3 separate regions of the Homo sapiens genome follow, and regions 2 and 3 are each linked to region 1. The links are contacts of gene promoters, found by promoter capture Hi-C in blood cells and fetal thymus (Javierre and others, 2016). All regions are on one chromosome and are shown on one strand. Each heading gives the region's core, a stretch centred on a gene start or on the middle of the fragment in contact. The rest is flanking DNA. Distances are from core to core; before and after follow the strand shown. Region 1 holds the start of CSNK2A3 (casein kinase 2 alpha 3). Region 2 overlaps GALNT18 (polypeptide N-acetylgalactosaminyltransferase 18). Region 3 overlaps GALNT18 (polypeptide N-acetylgalactosaminyltransferase 18).

Region 1 (2,700 bases), core at 133-2,632:
CGCCAGGCGCAAGCTGCATCAAGGAGGGGGTGGACTCCCCCACCTCTGCTCAGGCATCAGGAGACAGATAGGGCCGTTACTGCTGAGCGCCAGTGGCAGCTGGAACAGGCATCCCAAGGGGGTTGGCAGCAGCAATCACTGGTGAGCCTGCCAGAGGTCCAAGGGGTGAAGGAGTTGGCACTGAAGAAATCCCTGACATCACATTGGCGCTGCTGACGGGCGTACTGCCCCCTGGCATGCTAGATGAACCCATTCGAGCCTGGTCCTTCACAACAGTGTAGAAATAGGGGTGCTCCATGGCCTCTCTTGCAGTAAGCCGTGACTGGTGGTCATATCGCAGCAGTTTGTCCAGGAAATCCAAGGCCTCAGGGCTGACAAGGTGCTGATTTTCACTGTGGACAAAGCGTTCCCATCGCTTTCGAGAGTGTCTGCCCAAGATATCATTGAAACGTGGATCTAATTCAATGTTGTATTTGTCAATATAGCCATATAAATCTTCTGTCCCCAGAAACTTGGCTATCCTCACCAACTGATCATAATTGTCACGTCCATGGAAAAATGGCTCCTTCCGAAAGATCATACTTGCCAGCATACAACCCAATCTCCACATATCCAAACTATAATCGTACATCTGATAGTCTACAAGTAGCTCAGGACCTTTGAAGTATCGGGAAGCAACTCGGACATTATATTCTTGGCCAGGATGATAAAACTCAGCCAAACCCCAGTCTATTAGTCGTAGCTTTCTGTGCTCATGATCAATCATGACATTATGGGGCTTGACATCTCTGTGCATAATTCCCATGCTGTGACAATAATCCAGGGCCTTCAGAATCTCATACATGTAAAATCGAATATCATAGTCTGTTAACGTCTGGTACAATTGCTTGAAGTCTGTGTTGTTTACGTGTTCAAAAACCAAGGCGGGGGTTCGTGACACAGGGTCTTTTACAATGTCTGCCAGTGTGATGATGTTGGGACCTCCTCTCAAATTCTCCAAAATCTTTATTTCACGCTTAATTTTCTTCTTTTTTACTGGCTTGAGAATTTTAACAACAACTTTTTCATTATTTGTGATGTTGATGGCTTCAAATACTTCACTGTATTTACCTCGGCCTAATTTTCGAACCAGCTGGTAGTCATCTTGATTTCCCCATTCCACCACATGTGACTCGTAATCCCAGTATTCTCGAGGTCTGTGTGTATTAACATCTGTGTAAACTCTGGCCCTGCTTGGCACGGGTCCCGACATGTCAGACAGGTTGGCGGACAAAGCTGGACTTGATGTTTGGAGATCTGGCAGTCACTGTGTTCAGAAGCAGCTTGGGGGTAAGACCTTGTTTCAGACCTGTTTTCTTCACACTGTGGTGGAAGCGGCAGCGGCTGTGGCCGCTCTCCCTTCTGCTCACACAGACAATATGGCGGCGATGGAGTGGGGAGCAATTTTCTAAAATCCAAATAAAAACCTTCCCATCTCTAATCTGAGAGTCATTTTTATCAGCTAACTGGGCTCATCTATTTACTCAGCATATTCAGAGCCCTTTTTGGGGGTTAAGTCCCTTTCAATTGCTGTGAGGCACCGTCTCCTTGTGGACATGCTTGTGCTATCCAGCTGCTATTCAAAGCACATCTCCTGGACCATGTTTAATTTATACTTTCCTATATGAAGATGAACCACTTACTCACTTAAAGTATTTCTTTTTTTATGTCTCTAATCAGTGGCTGTTTCTTTCCTCTCTCTGAAGCTTAATCGAATCAGAAACAAATCCCACACATATGAATGGCTCATTAGCATGTCCCAGTCAGATTCAAATTGGCCGTCCATACCAGATGCCCCCAAAAGGATAACACTGGCCCAAAGAAGGACTCTTTAAACGAGTGTCCAAAGGGTGTTGCCATGATAAGCCAGGAGGGTTCTTTCTGAAATCCAGGGTAGATACACTCTGTCATTCCCAGCACCATAGAGCCAACTGATGGCAGGTAATGGATGTGTCATTGAGATGGGGTTGGTGGGAGGCAATGTGGCCAAGCCTGGGGAGCAGACATCAGAGGAATGTCTGGTGTCTATGTGTCTGGCTCAAGCATCATCCTCACACTTGGCTCAGTGGGGCCCTTTTATCAAATGATACAAATGAGGCTGAGATGCTGAACATTCTCTCGCTCAGAAATGATATTTGTTCTAAAGAGCTTCCCCTCTTAATCAAATGAAACTCAGATTATAAACACTGGTATGCTACATCTTCTCTTAAAGGATTTGCTCTTTTCATAGACATCAGAATGAATCGTCAGCATGGGCATCATCACTGGTGTCATCTCTGAAAGTCACCGATAGCAAACTCTCATTTAATACAGATTTACAAAAGAGATCAGCATACTGCAATAGAGTAGAACTGAAGGGAACCTAACCAGGACCTCCCTTCATTTCCCAGGTGAGCAAACTAAGGTTCAGGGTCACAGGATAATTTAGAAGCACAGTAAGATATGGATCCAAGAGCCTGCCTTTTGGAAGACAGGAAGTCATTATGGTTCAGAGCATAGCCTCTGGGGCCAAACAGTCTTGGTGTCAAGTCCTACATTTCCCATTTGCTGAACTGGTGACTTTAGGCAATTCACTTCACCTTCCAACACTCAGTTTCCTTGTCTATGAAATGGAGATAAAAGTGATAAATTCCAAAGATAGTTGCTGTGAGAATTAAATGA
Region 2 (2,862 bases), core at 258-2,757, 220 kb after region 1:
TGTGTGTATAGCTACCTTCAGACACAAAAGGAAAAGGTCCCAAGGGCATGTCTTTGGAGAATCAACCCCTGACTTTGTGTGGTGGAAACAGAAAACCAATGAGTCTGCAATAGGTGTCTCAGCAGGCTGGGAAATGAGGTTATTTGGTGATAAATCTAACTCTTCAAAATTAGCTCTGCTCTCTGAGTCCGGGTGCCTGTGCTTCCAGAAGCCCCCCAAGGCTCTAGTCCTCTAATGACTAGGTCAGATCAAAGTCAGAGTTCCCAGTGAACACCAGCTTTCTGGTGGGACATGCCTCTTCCTGGGCAGTGAGGCCCACTGTGCAGATCAACCGCATGTCCAGGAGCCCTTGCAATGGGCTGAGCTGGCTTTGGCCACCTCTTGTCAATTAGCCATGTCCAGGCTAATTGACAAGAATATTTTGACAAAGGATGTTTCAATCCTATTTAAATAGACTTTCTCCACAAATCCCATAACACGTAATGAGGTTATTTTATCTAGAAAGATATCCAATGACCTGGAAAAAAAAATTGGTGTGTGTTAAAGTGACCCTATGTCTGCATTTCCACAAGCTTCTCTAAAACTTACTGACGACAGTATCTGCCTGGCTACAGACTGTGAAGGTGTTTATTCATTCCAGAGTCCCTTTCCTGTCCCTCTGCCCTGGGGAAACACAGTGAGCTGTATGCCCAGCAGTGTAGACCACAGACCCCACACTAACTGGGCATAGGAATTCCCTGGGAAGCACTTTACAAATACAGATTTCCAGGCTCCCCCACTGAAGAGCATGATTCAGCAGATCTGAGGTGTGGCACAGGACTCTGTATTTTCCTGGTTCTCCAGCTCTCCCTGTGCAAGCAGGCCTGTGCCGCAGGGCGTGGGCATCATCGAGTAGTGGTGTGGATGCTGTTGGCATGTAGTGTCTTGCCGGGATCCAGGCCTAGCCACTCCTTTCTGTGGGATCCTTGACCACGTAACCACTCGGCCTCAGTTTCTTTATCTAGAAGAGGGGTACACAAATACACGGCCTGCTTGCTCCTTGGGTGGCTTTCAGGGATCAAGGGAGGTGGTATGAGTAAAATAATAACAAGAATTAACATTTATCAACTGTCAGCACCAGATGAAGCACTTTGCCTGAATAACTTAGTCTTCATGAAAATTGTATGAGTGTGTTACTGTTGCTATTTCTGTTTTAAAGGTAAATAACCGAGACAGAGTTTAGGCAGCTAATCCAAAGACACCCAGCTTGGGATGTGAACTTGGGCATGAGTCAGGGCCCTGGCTCCGCTACAGTCGCTCCTGGCCAGTGCTGTGTCTGTGTGAGAAGCTGTCTTAGATTCAGCTTTCCTGCTATGTCCCTCTCTGACAGCATTGGGATGTGAAGTTCTACACAGAGCAATGGTGCAGGAGGACCCCTGAACATTCAACATGGCTGCCCGGTGCCCTTCTGAGGAAGACAAGGAACAGATGGCCCTCGCAACCCTCGCCTTCCTGCCAACTATTAGGATGCAGAAGCAGGCGCCAGCTTCTGCTCACAGGAAAGAAGAAAAACACAATGGCAGTAACAACTCCAACTGGGGCATGAGTTGCCATTTTGAATTGCCAAGGCTGGAGACCAAAAATATTGAGAAGTCTTAAAACAATGGCCCCTTAAATTTGTACATTTGACAAAGAGGAGAGGGTGCTACCATTTACTGAGCACCTACTCTGTGCAAAACTCTTTCAAGTGGTCACTTCTCTTAGTCCTCACAGTAGTCCCATGAAGGAGGACGTTATCTTAGCCCATTTTACAGATGAGAAACCTGGGTCTCAGAGATACTAATGAAAGTAACCCAGGGCCAGCAAGGAGTGGACACTGGGTCTGAATTCACATTGAACTGGTTCCAAAACCCTGCCTTTCTGAACTACAGCGCCCCTCCAGAGAGCATGTTCATGTTCATTATGGTGGGCGGCCTTGACTCATACTTGACATGGATGTCCCAGAGATTCCCTACACACAGCTTTCAATACTGAAGATGGAGCTCTCTGTCCCCGGGTGGGGCCGCAGCATCACAGTGCCTGTGGGAAGGCTGGGCAGACTGAAATAAAAGGGATTTCTGCCTGCTCCTTCTCTTACACTAAGGTACATGTGCCCACCTAAGTATCAGCCAAGCCAAGGAGAAAAGCCACAATTAACTGAGCACTTACTTGGTGCCAGGAACTTGCTCACAAACGATATTAAAATTTTACAGCAACCATGCCAGACTAGGTCTTATTTTCCTTATTTTACAGATGCAGAACCTGATGCCCAGCAAAGGGGAAAGGATAGCAGGAGCCTTGATCCACCCAGGAAGAGGTGCCAGCTGGATCAGCAAGAGGCTGGTGGAGAACAAGAAGCTGCTATGAACCAATCTTTAGAAAACAGCAGGATCTCCGAGGAGAGAAAGAATTTCTCTCCAGCCAAAAGCTTCATGAGATGGAAGGGGATATCCTATCTCCTATATTGTATCCTCATCATGGTCTCAATAAACCCACTTGGAAGATGCCCATGCATGAGCGTCGACGGTGACTTCCCGAGGCTGGACGGCGATCCTTCCCACTGCAGAAGGCGGGGTGCTGAGCACTGTGCTGGGGCTTTCTGTGCACCATCTTCATTTGGTGCATTTTGAGGGGTCATTCATTCTATCAACATCTCATTATAGAAGGCAGAGTTCAGAGAAATTAGGATGGCTGCCCAAGGTCACCTAACTACTCTGAGAAAGAGCTGACATTCAAATCTAGGCCCCTGAGCCTGAGCTTTCCACATGACACTGTAGCATCTTTCAACAATCAGAGGACAATCTAGGCAAGTCAATTATTGTAGGTATGTGGCTCCCCATGCCC
Region 3 (2,700 bases), core at 145-2,644, 240 kb after region 1:
CTCAGGCTCCTCATTTGTAAATGCAAATTATTCCAATCACATCCTTCCAATTTTATAGGCAAGTGGGGAGGGAGACCATAACAGCCTCCATTTCTCTTCCTACTTTACATCTCCAACTACAGTCATTCTGCCCACAAGGAAAGCAGCCCCCCCAGTGAGTCCTGCTGTCATTTTAAAACAACTTTATGGAAATGCTCCCTCCTGGGTGAATGTATGTGGTTAAAGGAGGCTGAGATAGTAATAGAAGTGCATTTTCTTTAGTGCCAGATGGAAATACAATGAGCCCAGCCATACAGATGTGCTCCCATACCCTTTGAAGGGACAAAAATACACACATTATCAGATTTGGGTCCTGAGAACACACCTATAATCTTGAAAGCCAATACCCAGCTGTGATTAGATGTTATGAAGATTTAAGGGTTTTGAGTTTGATGTAACACAGTCCTCAAGATCAGACCACATAGAGTCAATTCCTATCCCAACACATGCTGACTGAGTGACCTCAGATACATGATTTAATGTTTCTGTGCCTCAATTTTATAATAGAAAAAGGGGATAATAATAGCATATCTCAGTTTGTTGCTGTGAAGATAAAGTGAGATAATTTGTGCATAGCATTTAGCATGGTACCTGGCATGTAATAAAACTCAATAAATGCTAGCTATTTGGCACAAACCAGAAAAACTTTTCAGCAAGTTAAGGAGATTCCTATTTCTCTAAGCAAGTCCCTAGAAACATCATCAATCTGTCTCTGGCAGGCGTTTTTCTATTTAATGACTCTAAAGAGACAGAAAAGCTTTAATCAATGCCCGGAAGTGAAATGCTAAGAAATTATATGCACGGTTACGAAAAAAAATCAAAGATGTTTCCCACACATTGTCCAGCAGACAAAAACATATTGACATGCTGTTCCTGCAAGGAAGTGGACTGAGTTTTCTAGATAATGTTTGAGCAATTCATCCTTCCCGCAACTGTCCTCCACTTTCCAGGCAAATAATACCTCCAGCCAAATAAGGGGTTCACTCCCTCAAGTTCCTACCATGGCTCCCTGGCAGAACCATGCTCCCTCACCTTACCCCCACACACAGCACACGCCCTGGGTCTGGCACAAGCTCAAAACAACTTTCAGTTACGAAAAAGGGTATAAACCGCCATTCCTTCTTAGAAAACCAGAAAGATGGTGAGAAACAGTGGGAACATCCTTCATGTAAAAATCCCACCACTCCCCAAAGCACATTTGGGAGTTCCAACTCTTTGAAAAGCCAAAAAACAGGAAAGGGGCTGATTTATTAGGCAGTCTGGGGCCCATACTGAAAATTTTTTGACATATCTTCAAAGTATAAAGAGAAGGCAAGATATTCTGTCAATTTAACCAAGTCATTTCCTTCTTAAGGCCTCTGGTTACCTTTCTTGTAGATAAAATGCTAAGGGTCAGACCAGAACAGAGGACGCCCATGCTTCGCGTTGTTTTTTTCTGTTTGTTTTTTGTTTTTGTCTCTGTCTCCCAGGCTGGAGTGCAGTGGCGCAATCTCAGCTCACTGCAAGCTGCGCCTCTCGGGTTCACGCCATTCTCCTGCCTCAGCCTCCTGAGTAGCTGGGACTACAGGCACCCCCCAACGCTCGGCTAATTTTTTGTATTTTTAGTGGAGACGGGGTTTCACCGTGTTAGCCAGGATGGTCTCGATATCCTGACCTCGTGATCCGCCCGCCTCGGCCTCCCGCTTCGTTTTAAGTCTGTCCAATGCAGCTCCCTTTAGGCAAGACGTACAGTCTTTACTTCTCTACAGGTTATAACTGTGCCCTGTTCTATCATAACAAACCCATACCACCCATTTACGTTGCCTGCCTAGCATTTCAGTTTGCGGACCCTGGAATAGAGGGTCTCAAGCCATTCTTGGTACTTTGTCAGCTCATGAGTCTAAAAAAATCTATGAGGTGAGAAGCCCATACTAAATCCTTTCCTCAGTTTTCCCAGTTTCTGAAAGGTACTATGAAGCTTGGCCTTCCTTCTCTGCAAACAGACACTGATGTTAACAAAGGGGCTATAAGATGCGTGAGGAACTTTGTTCCTTTTTGTCCACGTGTCCAAATGTTAGCAAGATGCTTTATAGCCAGACCACATCTAATTTTTTTTTCTACCATTTCCAGAGGCTTCTTATAAGTGATTGTCACCCTTTAAAAATTTCCAGGCTTTAGTCCAATATGGTGGCTCATGCCCCTAACCCCAGTGCTGTGTGAGGCAGAGGCAGGAGAATGGCTTGAGGCCAGGAGTTTGAGACCAGCCTGGGTAACACAGCAAGACCCCATTTCTAACAAAACAATAAAATAAAGTAAAATAAAATAAAAATTTCCAGCCTTTCTCAATTGCACTGTCAAGTTCCAAGATGACCCTTGGAACATAAAATTTTCATATGAGCCTCATGCTCATTGGAATATGATTCCCCTGCCTTGCATTTGGCTTTTCAAAGAATTGGTCTTCATGTTTGTACTTTGTGGATTCATAGAGATTTAGATGAAGGATGCTTTTCTCTTGCTTCTCAGCTCCTTTCTGCTTTGCTAGGCTACATAGTAGATTCTCCGTTTTGGAATTGAAGGTAGTTTTCACTCTGTGCCAGACTCTGTGTATGTGCATTTGTGTATCTATACATGAGAGAGAGGAGAAAGCACAGTATTTTTTTAGAAGAATGTCAGGTCCAGGTG

What was found. Contacts are between HindIII fragments. The CHiCAGO score rates a contact against its expected background, and 5 or more counts as called.
Region 2: a fragment that was not itself captured here is called in contact with the fragment with the promoter of CSNK2A3 in region 1 in 1 of 17 cell types (endothelial precursors); the score reaches 5.1 in endothelial precursors.
Region 3: a contact is called between a fragment that was not itself captured here and the fragment with the promoter of CSNK2A3 in region 1, in 1 of 17 cell types (endothelial precursors). The highest score is 7.4, in endothelial precursors.

Annotation. Positions count from the first base shown.
Region 1 is chr11:11,351,868-11,354,567 of GRCh38, forward strand. CSNK2A3 (casein kinase 2 alpha 3) reads right to left here and starts at 1,383. Exons shown (of 1, transcript NM_001256686.2): 1 at 75-1,383. The coding sequence starts at 1,252. The coding sequence ends at 77. All of the region lies in intron 6 of GALNT18 (polypeptide N-acetylgalactosaminyltransferase 18), which reads right to left. The HindIII fragment of the contact is 3,495 bases long and covers 1-1,743 here.
Region 2 is chr11:11,571,254-11,574,115 of GRCh38, forward strand. The region is part of intron 1 of GALNT18 (polypeptide N-acetylgalactosaminyltransferase 18); the gene reads right to left. GALNT18-AS1 (GALNT18 antisense RNA 1) reads left to right here. Exons shown (of 2, transcript XR_007062595.1): 2 at 2,272-2,524. Among named protein-coding and RNA genes, the nearest start is that of GALNT18-AS1, 2.7 kb to the left of the region's middle. The HindIII fragment of the contact is 1,874 bases long and covers 571-2,444 here.
Region 3 is chr11:11,591,453-11,594,152 of GRCh38, forward strand. All of the region lies in intron 1 of GALNT18 (polypeptide N-acetylgalactosaminyltransferase 18), which reads right to left. Among named protein-coding and RNA genes, the nearest start is that of GALNT18-AS1, 23 kb to the left of the region's middle. The HindIII fragment of the contact is 1,200 bases long and covers 795-1,994 here.